Regions from separate parts of the Homo sapiens genome. Here regions 1 and 3 are each linked to region 2. The links are contacts of gene promoters, found by promoter capture Hi-C in human tissues and cell types (Jung and others, 2019). All regions are on one chromosome and are shown on one strand. The core of a region is centred on a gene start or on the middle of the fragment in contact, and the rest is flanking DNA. Distances in the headings are between cores, read along the strand shown. Region 1 holds the start of PCED1B-AS1 (PCED1B antisense RNA 1). Region 2 holds the start of SLC38A2 (solute carrier family 38 member 2). Region 3 has its middle 80 kb from the start of SLC38A4.

What was found. Contacts are between HindIII fragments. The study calls those that stand out against the background at their distance.
Region 1: a fragment that was not itself captured here is called in contact with the fragment with the promoter of SLC38A2 in region 2 in 1 of the 25 tissues and cell types used here (lymphoblastoid cells).
Region 3: a contact is called between a fragment that was not itself captured here and the fragment with the promoter of SLC38A2 in region 2, in 1 of the 25 tissues and cell types used here (mesenchymal stem cells).

What each region holds. Positions count from the first base shown.
Region 1 is chr12:47,213,868-47,217,181 of GRCh38, forward strand. PCED1B (PC-esterase domain containing 1B) reads left to right here. Exons shown (of 4, transcript NM_138371.3): 3 at 2,355-2,822. It overlaps PCED1B-AS1 (PCED1B antisense RNA 1), which reads right to left and starts at 2,576. Exons shown (of 3, transcript NR_026544.1): 1 at 2,517-2,576; 2 at 2,298-2,397. The HindIII fragment of the contact is 5,909 bases long and covers 1-3,314 here.
Region 2 is chr12:46,370,783-46,374,081 of GRCh38, forward strand. It overlaps SLC38A2 (solute carrier family 38 member 2), which reads right to left and starts at 1,991. Exons shown (of 16, transcript NM_018976.5): 1 at 1,727-1,991; 2 at 396-597; 3 at 1-75. The coding sequence starts at 511. It overlaps SLC38A2-AS1 (SLC38A2 antisense RNA 1), which reads left to right and starts at 2,001. Exons shown (of 2, transcript NR_187299.1): 1 at 2,001-2,080; 2 at 2,531-2,996. RefSeq lists enhancers at 921-1,070, 1,151-1,480, 1,170-1,873, 1,731-1,810, 2,491-2,550 and silencers at 1,501-1,700, 1,901-2,240. The HindIII fragment of the contact is 23,415 bases long and covers 1-3,299 here.
Region 3 is chr12:46,903,983-46,907,388 of GRCh38, forward strand. No RefSeq gene overlaps it. Among named protein-coding and RNA genes, the nearest start is that of SLC38A4, 80 kb to the left of the region's middle. The HindIII fragment of the contact is 3,394 bases long and covers 1-3,243 here.

The DNA of each region.
Region 1 (3,314 bases), core at 84-2,583, 840 kb after region 2:
AACTTTATTTTAAGTTTAAAGAGTATAAGTGTGATTATCATTTGCATTATTACAGCTCTTCTGTTCTCTGGTCTTGGGATGATTACAGAGATTGTCCTTTTATTCTCACAGTGCACAGACTAGCTGAAATCTACAGAACTAGAAAGATTTGCAATTCATTTATAGAATTGCTAGAACTAAATAATGGCAGATTTTTCAAAGTTATGTAATAGACTACTCTGGATTATAAAATACTAAAGCTATCAGTTGGGTTCTGCCTTGATTCTATTAAATTTCCCGGTAATGACTGTACTAAAACTCATGGGGAACTGCAAGATAACTTTATTGATGGCCATAGAGGATGAAAACAATGCATAAGGTATGGAATTAATTTTAAGCCACACACTGAATAGACAGTGATGTAAAGTAAAATGATATTTTTCAAGGAAAGACAATTATGTCACATTATAATCCAGTTTACATAAATAGCATACTATTAAAAAAAGCTAAGTCTTCAGAGCATGTAATTCAGGACTGTTGTGAAACCTCTTACTCTTGTTGGTTAGTTATTTTGTGCTGTAAGGGAGGGAAAATGGCTTCCTCCCTACTTCTAGGTTCTTTGGCTGGGATACAAATTAAATTGACATAAAACAGATTAACAGGAGAAAAAAACATTTTTGGCCAGGCTCGGTGGCTCATGCCTGTGATCCCAGCACTTTGGGAAGCTGAGGTGGGAGGATCACTTGAGCCCACGAGTTCAAGACCAGCCTGGGCAACATATTGAGACCAAATCTCAATTCAAAAAAAAAGAAAAGAAAAGGAAAAAACATTTTTAATTATATGCACACACACTGGAATCCCCCAGGTAATAAAAGTTGTCTGAGAGCAGGACTCTTCCTGATACAGATACTTTGACTAATGTAGATTTCTTTTATAAATATAAATTTATTTTACAAAAGGACAGCTTTTCAGAGATACTCTTGTGTCTGCAGTTGCTCAGAATAATCAGCTCGAAATATGCCAAATAACTATATTTTGGGGTGGCATATTTTTTATTTTTGAGATGGAGTCTCGCTGTTGCCCAGGCTGAGGTGCAGTGGCGCAATCTCGGCTTGCTGCAACCTACGCCTCCTGGGTTGAAGCGATTCTCCTGCCTCAGCCTCCCAAGGACCTGGGATTACGGGAACCTGGGGGTGGTATATTCTGATCTTCTGTAGTCATGCACTGGGACCTTCTGTAGTCATGCATTTTCTCTCTCTCTTTTTTTTCTGATTCATTATTTCCTTTTCTTTTTCATCTTGGTATTTGTAGGGAAAGTGATATTCCTCTCCCCGAAATCATATTATTCCAGACAAAAGAAAACAAATGCCTACACTTATCTAATCAATCAGAAGACCATCTCCCCCACCCTTTTTTTTTTTTTAAAGATGGAGTCTTGCTCTTGTCACCCTGACTGGAGTGCAATGGGACGATTTTGGCTCACTGCAACCTCCGCCTCCTGGGTTCAAGCGATTCTCCTGCCTCAGCCCCCCGAGTAGCTGGGATTACAGGGGCCCACCACCACGCCCAGCTAATTTTTGTATTTTCAGTAGAGACGGAGTTGCACCATGTTGGCCAGGCTGGTCTCGAACTCCTGACCTCAGGTGATCCACCCGCCTCGGCCTCCCAAAGTGCTGGGATTACAGGCATGAGCCACAGCGCCAGACGAACCATCTCCCTTTTAAGCACGCTGTCCCCTTGAGTTACCTGCTGGTTTCAAGTGGAACACTAAGGGAGGAAGCAGAAAGTTCTTATCTTGCTCTGCCACATACTGGATCTAGCTGAGGCTGGGGCTCAGGCCTGTGGTTTCCTGTAGTGTGGACTGAGCCATTTTTCCATCAAGACGTCAGTGGAGAGATGAAGTGAAAGGATTTAAAAGCGGTTTGTGGCCTGCCATGGTGGCTCACCCCTATAATCCCAGCACTTTGGGAGGCCAAGGCGGGTGGATCACCTGAGGTAAGGAGTTCGAGACCAGACTGGCCAACATGGTGAAACACCATCTCTACTAAAAATACAAAATCAGCCGGGTGTGGTGGTGGGTGCATGTAGTCACAGCTACTCGGAGCCTGAAGCAGGAGAATCGCTTGAACCTGGGAGGCAGAGGTTGCAATGAGCCGAGACCATGCCACTGCACTCCAGCCTGGGCAACAAGACCAAAACTCCGTCTCAAAAAAAATAAATAAATAAAAATAAAAGCGGTTTGTAAACTGTAACACCTTGCACAGAAACACAAGATTACTACTATTAAATATTATTTAGAAAAGTAGAGTTCTTCTTACCATTTCCCTGTTTCTTTCTTCTCACTTCCTCCTTTCCCCTTCTGACCATCTTTTCAGCCGTGAACATACCACACCAGCAAGAACAATAAGAGCCAAGGGTCTGAATTGTTTAATCAAAGGAAGAGTCAAAATAAGCTACACCCAGATTACTGAGAAAGGTGAAATGAAAACAAGCTCAAAACCAAATTCCAGGAAGATGCTGTCTTTGTATTGACTTACCATTTCATGTTTTCACACATGTCAAAGTCTTGAAGCTTCGGTCATTAGTCTTCCGCTTCCTAAAGCAAGAAACTAAATGCTGACTTGTGTCGTTTGCCCCAGATGCCACCGGAAATGTCATCTTCTCCCCAGACGCTGGCTTGCAAGCACAGCAGCACCCAGAGGCTAACCTATTTCCCCTATAGCCCAAGCTCTGAGATCTCCCGTCTGGTCACAATGATCTACAGGAGAGGAAGAAAGCTATCTAGGGACGAGATCTAGAATCAACTGAGAGAGATGCTTAAAAATCACCAGTTACTTTAATGAGTAAGTACTTTTCAGTTTTTCCATTTTATCTGAAACTTTAAGTTGGCATTTCTGACCAGCCTTTCTTGAGACCATCATTTTTTGGGCACTTACTGTAGACAGGAATCAGCACCCTAGCCTCCTTCAGCCCACCCCATGTAACACTAAAGAGACAACTGGTGCTTGGCAATAACAAAAATATTAGTGATTGATAAACTTGTAAATTTATTAAAATGGACAGTGAAAGAAAACAGCCAATTTAGTTGTGAACTGGAGAAGGGACGTGAGGCATCTGTTGTCTGCAATCTTGTATGTTGTGGTTGACCACAAAGGCTTGGCATCAGGTTTTACTTCCAGCACTACTTCTTATAAAATGGATGACCTTGGGCAGATTACTCAATCTTTTAGCCTTAATTTTTAAAAGTATAAAATGGAGAAAATTAGAATATGTAGTCCAGGTGCGGTGGCCCACACCCGTAATCCAAGCACTTTGGAAGGCTGAGGCAGGTGGAT
Region 2 (3,299 bases), core at 741-3,240:
GTTTCATACTTCTTCTTCCCCAAATTCGATTCAAGTAAAAAGTTCTGGTTTTCAGGATCTACATCTGCATAATGGCTGCAAAAAATATAGACATATATAATTGTAAACTGGATTGAAATATCTATCATTACACACAAGACTGCTTTAACATAAAATACCCTCCAACAGCATAGCTCTGATACAACATCTTTACTTAATGTATAAATATTAACTAGGAGTTGACTTTCACACCAGCTATCTTGTCATTACAACAAGATAATCGGATACTCTTTCAGAGATTACGCACCTTCTCTAAATGCTATAGCAAATTAAAGCAATGGAAGCAGAGTCCTAGGTAACTCCCTGAACCCAACCCATGCAAGCCGTTTTTTCAAAAGTGTCACAACTTCTCCCACCTTTTCAGAGCAGCTTGCTTGGTGGGGTAGGAGTAGTTGAAGTCGCTGTTGGAACTGTAGCTGCTGCTGTCTTCATCCGGGGAAATACTGAATCGTCCCATTTCGGCCTTCTTCATGCTAAGCACTGGGAGGAATCGGGTGCAGCTAGTAGCGCTGGGCTCCTTTTGTCCTTGGCGGTGGGTGCAGCGGCCCGCGAGTCGGCCTGCGAAAGTAGAGGCGGCGCGTCAGGACCGCAGCGCCAGCCCGCCGCGGTCACGTGACGCCGCCCGGAGGCGCAGCGCGGCTGATTCATCCCAGGCCAGGCGAGTGGAAAAGTACCAGCCGCGCGCGAGGGGCGGGGGCGCGCCGAGGGGCGGAAAAGTACAGACGGCGGAGCCGCGGGGAGAACAAAGATGATGCCACCGCTGTGTTGCGGCCGTCGAGGCCCCCTACTCCGGCAGATTTCAGTATTTCACCCTCTCTATTGTCCCTCGTCGGAGTGGAGGGGGCGAGGGGGGGTTCTGTTTTGCTTTTTCCCAGTCGCTCCAAACTTGCACAGGCACTCAGGGCACACATCCAGCCCCGACCCTGGCTCGTGTGCATGCAACCTAGGCGCACGGCTTTCCGTTTCTAGCATTTGGAACAGCAATGCTGCGTAATCTGTCCTTTACTGCCCGGAGTCCCCACACGGAGAAATGCCTCTGCCGCAGACAGCCTTCCCCAGGAGGCGGAAAGGGCCGACACTACTCCTCTCTCGAGGGGGGCGAACGCCCGGGCCCCGGGAGCTGGGGGTTTGTTTACACACGCGCGCCAGTGCCCTCAAGCACACCCGTCCACAGGCAGCTGGCCCGCGAGTGCTACGCCCGCCCAGCCCCTCCTATGTCCGGAAAGAAAACTGATGCAATATCGATCGTCGATTGTCAAATGTTCCCAACTCGTCTTCCCCAATCTTGGCCTCTCCTGTAATACATGCCCAAGCCCACCTCCGCCGCCCCCAGATTCCTGGCTCCCTGGACTTAATTTTTTTTTTTTATTAAATGCAAATCAGTCACAAGACTTGCCGCAGCAGAGCCGCTGGCCGGGCTAGCTCCCCTCCCCCTAATGGGAAGATGCGGCTCCGCACCGTGCAGGCACGCGGCCCCCGCCCAGCGCCCGCTCTCCTACCCACGTCGCGGGCGCGACACCCGCGCGGCGGGCCAGGGTGGAAGGCTGGCCAGCCCAACCGACAACGCCCGCCTCGAAAGGAAACGGACCCCGCGGCCGCCTTCCCGCGCGGCCCCTCCCGGAAGCCCCTCCCCCACTCTCGCCCGGGCCCCGCGCCCTTCCCACAGACGCCCCCCCGCACGCGTTACCTCGGTGGTCTCTATTCTCACGCAGACGTCTTCAGTGGGTTTCTCTCAGTCAAATACAAATCATAAAAAACAAACAAAAAATTTCCCCAAATCCAACAACAGGCAGGAAAAATAATTTTAATAAAAAAGGAAAAGACAAATTGCCGCCCCAATCCTCCGGCGTCCGCCGTGTCAAGGGAAAGGCGCGAGCGTGCGGTAACGCGTGGTCGGGCTGCTGCTAGCAGTACTGGAAAGGCGTTCTAAGGCGGCGGCGTCGCGCGGCTGTGGAGCAGCCCTGCGAGCGGCGGGTTATAGCGGCACCCCGGGGACGCGTCAGTGGGCGGGACCGCGGCCGCCCGGGCGCCTTCTCTTTGTGTATCAACACCACCTGGGCCCCGCCTCCGACCCGCCCAGACCTAGGCCCCGCCTCCCTGCCCCTCCCTCTGCGGCCCGCGCCCGCGGCCCAGCCCCGCCCGCAGGCGCCCCCAAGACTCTCCCGCAAAGCCCAAGCCCACTCTCTCCAGCTTTCTAGATAGTCTGGAAAGACCCCCAGATGCTTCCCCTGCCTATCCTTTTCAGCCAGGGTTGGTGCTCAACACATGCGGTTGTCTTTGAGGAGCCATCTCCTTAAAATTTTCTCCTGTCCGAGTCACCAGCAGTCCTTGCTTTCGGGGGACACATCAAGGCTTTTGGGGGACACCACCCTCCCACCAAACACTTTCTTGATTGTTATTTTTGTGATTTACAGTGAAGTTTTGTCTCACAAACTTGGGCCAAGGCAGCAAGGTTGTCCTGATGGTTTGTTGTTCTTTCTTTTCCACCTAGACCTGCTTTCACTCTTCAAAACTAGCCGGAGGTCGGCGAGCAGCTCCTTTTCGGGATGTGCTTTTTGTACGGCCATGGAAACTGGACTAGCGGAAAGGCTACCTTTTGGCCAGCAAGCCAGGCCCCTTAGAAAGAGGCCCCAGTGGGGAGCCCGGCGCTCCTAAGGCCGTTTGGGAGTCCCCAGTTTTCCACTCGCTGACACGTTGCTTCTCTTATCCCACCACCGCCGCCCCGGGCAAAGGCACTGCCTTGTCTGAATGCGGGTCTGAGGCGCTTTCTGCGGAGCCTGGTCCTTTCCCTTCAATGGTGATGTGTGTGGTCTTGCTGAGCCAGGCAACTAGGGGGACCCTTCGCTGTGGAAAAATTGGTGCTGCGGGAAAGGCAAGACTCACTCCCTTGCAGGAAACAAAGACCCCTTAGGAGAGAGAAATGTTCATGGAATGAATGAATAAACAAGTTTGACCTACTGCTCTCTTCCTTTTGGGGACTTGGGAGAAATTGGGCAGGGCATAGAGGAAAGGGCTGGGTGTGATCGCAGTTTTTGCTTTCAATGTTTTACTGAGGAAATCCGTACAACTGCCTATTTCCGCCGCACGTGAGGCTTCGGGTGCCCTCGCCTGCACCAGTGTTTATGATTGACAAGCGAGGTCCCGATTTCCCCCATCACACTCCTGTGTTCCCTACCCCAAACCTTCTACTCTGTTCAGGCCAGTCTTCCCTACCGCAAACCTTCTACTCTGTTCAGGCCAGTCTTAAATAATAGCCATTC
Region 3 (3,406 bases), core at 297-2,796, 530 kb after region 2:
GTCAATGCTGAATACTTAGCAACTGGCGTATATTTTTAGGGAGAGAAGCAGAACAAGTTTCAGTAGAGAAAAATAATGTCACTTCCTTTTAAAAATGTTAGTCAAAGATTGAGACTTTTTGTGTGATTAACAGCTGATTTCCTATGATTCTGGTGCAGTAATTCACATTCAAAACTGTAGACAAGTGTAGAGAGACTTTGAGAAAACTTCCATTGACTAAGGTAGCCTTAAGATCTGAAGGATACTTTGGCCTTTGGAAGTGGCACTATACAGATGTCTAGTCAGCTATTATCTGCTTTGCATGGTTATCAAACACATCATTAAGTACATTATTTCATTTATTTTAATATGCAGGACAAAATGTAGCAACAACAAAAAATGTGCTTAACGCAAACTGGGAAGACTCGTTCTTTTTATACTGACTCATTAAGCCTTATTAGTTTGGTAGTTTTGTGATTTCAGAACACCATAATTCTGAACCGGATTCCCATCTTGTATGGCTCTGTTAGAGGTTTTGCCTGCAGGGTGTTCTCTGGCCCTCTTTCTGAGTGTGTCTCCCTCTTTCTTTATTTCTGTCTTTTCATCAGTGATGCTCTGGGCTTTGGAAGCAGGCCAGAATGCCCTGAATCTTGCAATGAATGATGCTGCAAAAATTGCTAACATACCAATTTCAAGCATATTCCACAATTCAGACAAATATTCCTTGGGGCCTTGAGTCCAAATTTCTTTACATGCAGCCCATATCATGCCTCTGTACTCATTAAATCTGTTTTTCTCTAGCAGAGGCAGGTTAACCATGAAACTGAAGCTTCAAGATGACTTTACTTGCCCAGGCTCCTTCTAAGTCCTCACTTTCTCTTCTTTTTCTCTAAATGGAGCCCTCTGAATAAACAAGCCTCAGATTCCACTGGGTCTTACCCCGTGCCTAACCCTCTTCATAATAAATGCCTCAAGAAATTCAAGTAAGCAGAATGTTTGCTTTCACTTTGTCCCATTGTCACCCCGGTTCTTCCGAGCACTCAGCTTTCCCACCAAGCTTCTTTCAGTCGTCCTCGGGTGTCCTTTGACAATGCATCCTCTGCTTTTACACACTCTAGCGTTCCTTCACTGGGGTCTTTGCTGCCCCACACTGGGCAGCCAGGAATGTTGGGGTGATCGGGCCCGACATCAGGTCGTGGGGGCAACGAAGTCCGGTGGAGTCAAAGGAATGAGAAAGGACAGTTTCAGAGAAAAAGTGGGTCCAGGAGGCCAACACTAAGTATGGAGGCTGTGAAGTCCCTGAGCTCTGGAAGCCCAGACTATTTATTGGTGATCAAACAAAGAAACAGGGTGTGAGAATGTGGGGGTCGAAAGGGCAAGCACATGATCTACAGCTGTGACGGTTTAGCATTTCCTTTGCGGCACATGGAACATGTTCTTCTGCTTGAGATAATGGAAAGCAGGTTCTTTTAACTCAAGATACAGTCGATCCTGGGAGAGCAAGGAGCAAGGAGCCAGCAAGTCTAGACACATTCCAGAGCCATGAGCCCTGGATTCTATTCAAGCCATGAGGGGTTTTATGCCCTGGGCTTAGATTATGGTGTGTCAGGGTAGCCTTCCACACTTTAGCACAGAGCTTGGTGTTCCAAAGGCCACAAGGGGTTTTAGGCTCTGTACCCCAGACATGTTCCAAGACTCTTTTACATTATGTCAGACATGCAAGCCCTGCCTCAGCTTCTCCCAACACTCAGCTTTTCCCAACAGAGAGATGAGGATGGAACCCCAGAGAATATTAATATTAAGGGATTTTCAAAGAACTAGTGAATGAGGCTGAGATGGAGTAGCAGAGGCAGGAAGAAGCAGAGAGGACAACTAGCAGAGTGTGGGTCACAAAGCGGACAAGCCTGACATCACTTTTATGTCTCTTCCAACCCTGAATTATGAGAAGTTATAAAAAGAAATAAATCCTAAAAAAATTGAAAGTGGCAACTGAACTATAAATTAAAGATTAAAAAAACCATTTCCACTGATTTAAGTATTGATGGGGATGGATTGGGAAGTAAGATGGCTGCCAAGATTCCTGCTCAGTGGTGCACTTACCCTTTATAATCACCTCCCCTTGAGTGTGGTGGGACATATGAAGAAGATGGGTCTTACTTCCACATTGCCATTAAATTGCTTTTGATAAAATATTTTTGGGGATAATAGTTGTCTATTTTTTAATTTTTATGGATACACAATAAATAGTTGTAGTATTTATGGGATACATGTAATATTTTGATACAAGTATAAAATGTGTAGGGGTCAAATAGGGGTAATTGGGATATCTATCAGTTTAAACACTTCATTTCTTAGTGTTAGAAACATTCTAATTCCATGCTTCTTGTTATTTTGAAATATCCAATAAATTATTTTGAACTGCATTGCCCTATTCTGCTACCAAATACAAGATCTTATTCCTTCTGTCTGTATTTTTGTACCCACTAACCAACCCCTCCCCTCCTATACGCAACTACTTTTCCCAGTCTCTGGTAACCATCATTCTTCTCTCTGCATCCATGAGATCAACCATTTTAGCTACCATGTATGAGTGAGAACATGCAATATTTGTCTTTCTGTGCCTGACAACAATTAAGTCTATTGTCAATGAATGTTACATCTGATTTATACAAATGGGTAAACAATTTTTATAGAGAAAAAATCTTGAGATATAGTATACAATTATCCTGACTTCTAATATACCAAGAATAACAAGTGAAAAGATTCAGTAAGTCTGGAGTAGGGTGTAGAGAGCTGTACTGCTATAACACTTTATAAGTAAGTCTTATGTGCATCCCCAATTGAGAGCTACTAGACTAGAAATACTACATTAAAATTAAAAGAATAAGGTTTCATCCAAGTACAATTTTAAATAATTACTAATATTATTACTGATTATGCAGTGGTTGCCTGAAATCATCAGCTCATTAGACAGGTAAAGCACTACCAGGATTCGTAAGTATAGGAAAACCTGACACAATTATTTCTTAGAGTTTTTATCAGTGTTATTCCTTAGGGTTAAAATATATTGTGGACAGTGAAAATATTGACAAATACCAGGGCTTCACCATAAAACATACAATTTCTGATAAATTAATATTAATAAAATTTTACCTATACAATGTTAGCACAGGGATGGCTAAATGTCTCTCTTGATTTGACAAATCTTCCCATGCAACTCATCAAACAAATCTAGTTAATTTCCAGCATCTCTCTTTTTATAAACTAAAAGAAACAATATCTGTAATTTTCCAGGGGCTATCTGGGAAATCTCAAAGATAGTTTTAGGTATAAAAGATGGCCTGAACGTTTTGTGGGCTTTTTTTTTTCTATATTTAGGACCCCTTTTTTAGAAAGTTAAAAATTTTTTTAATGCCAGAGGAAATTT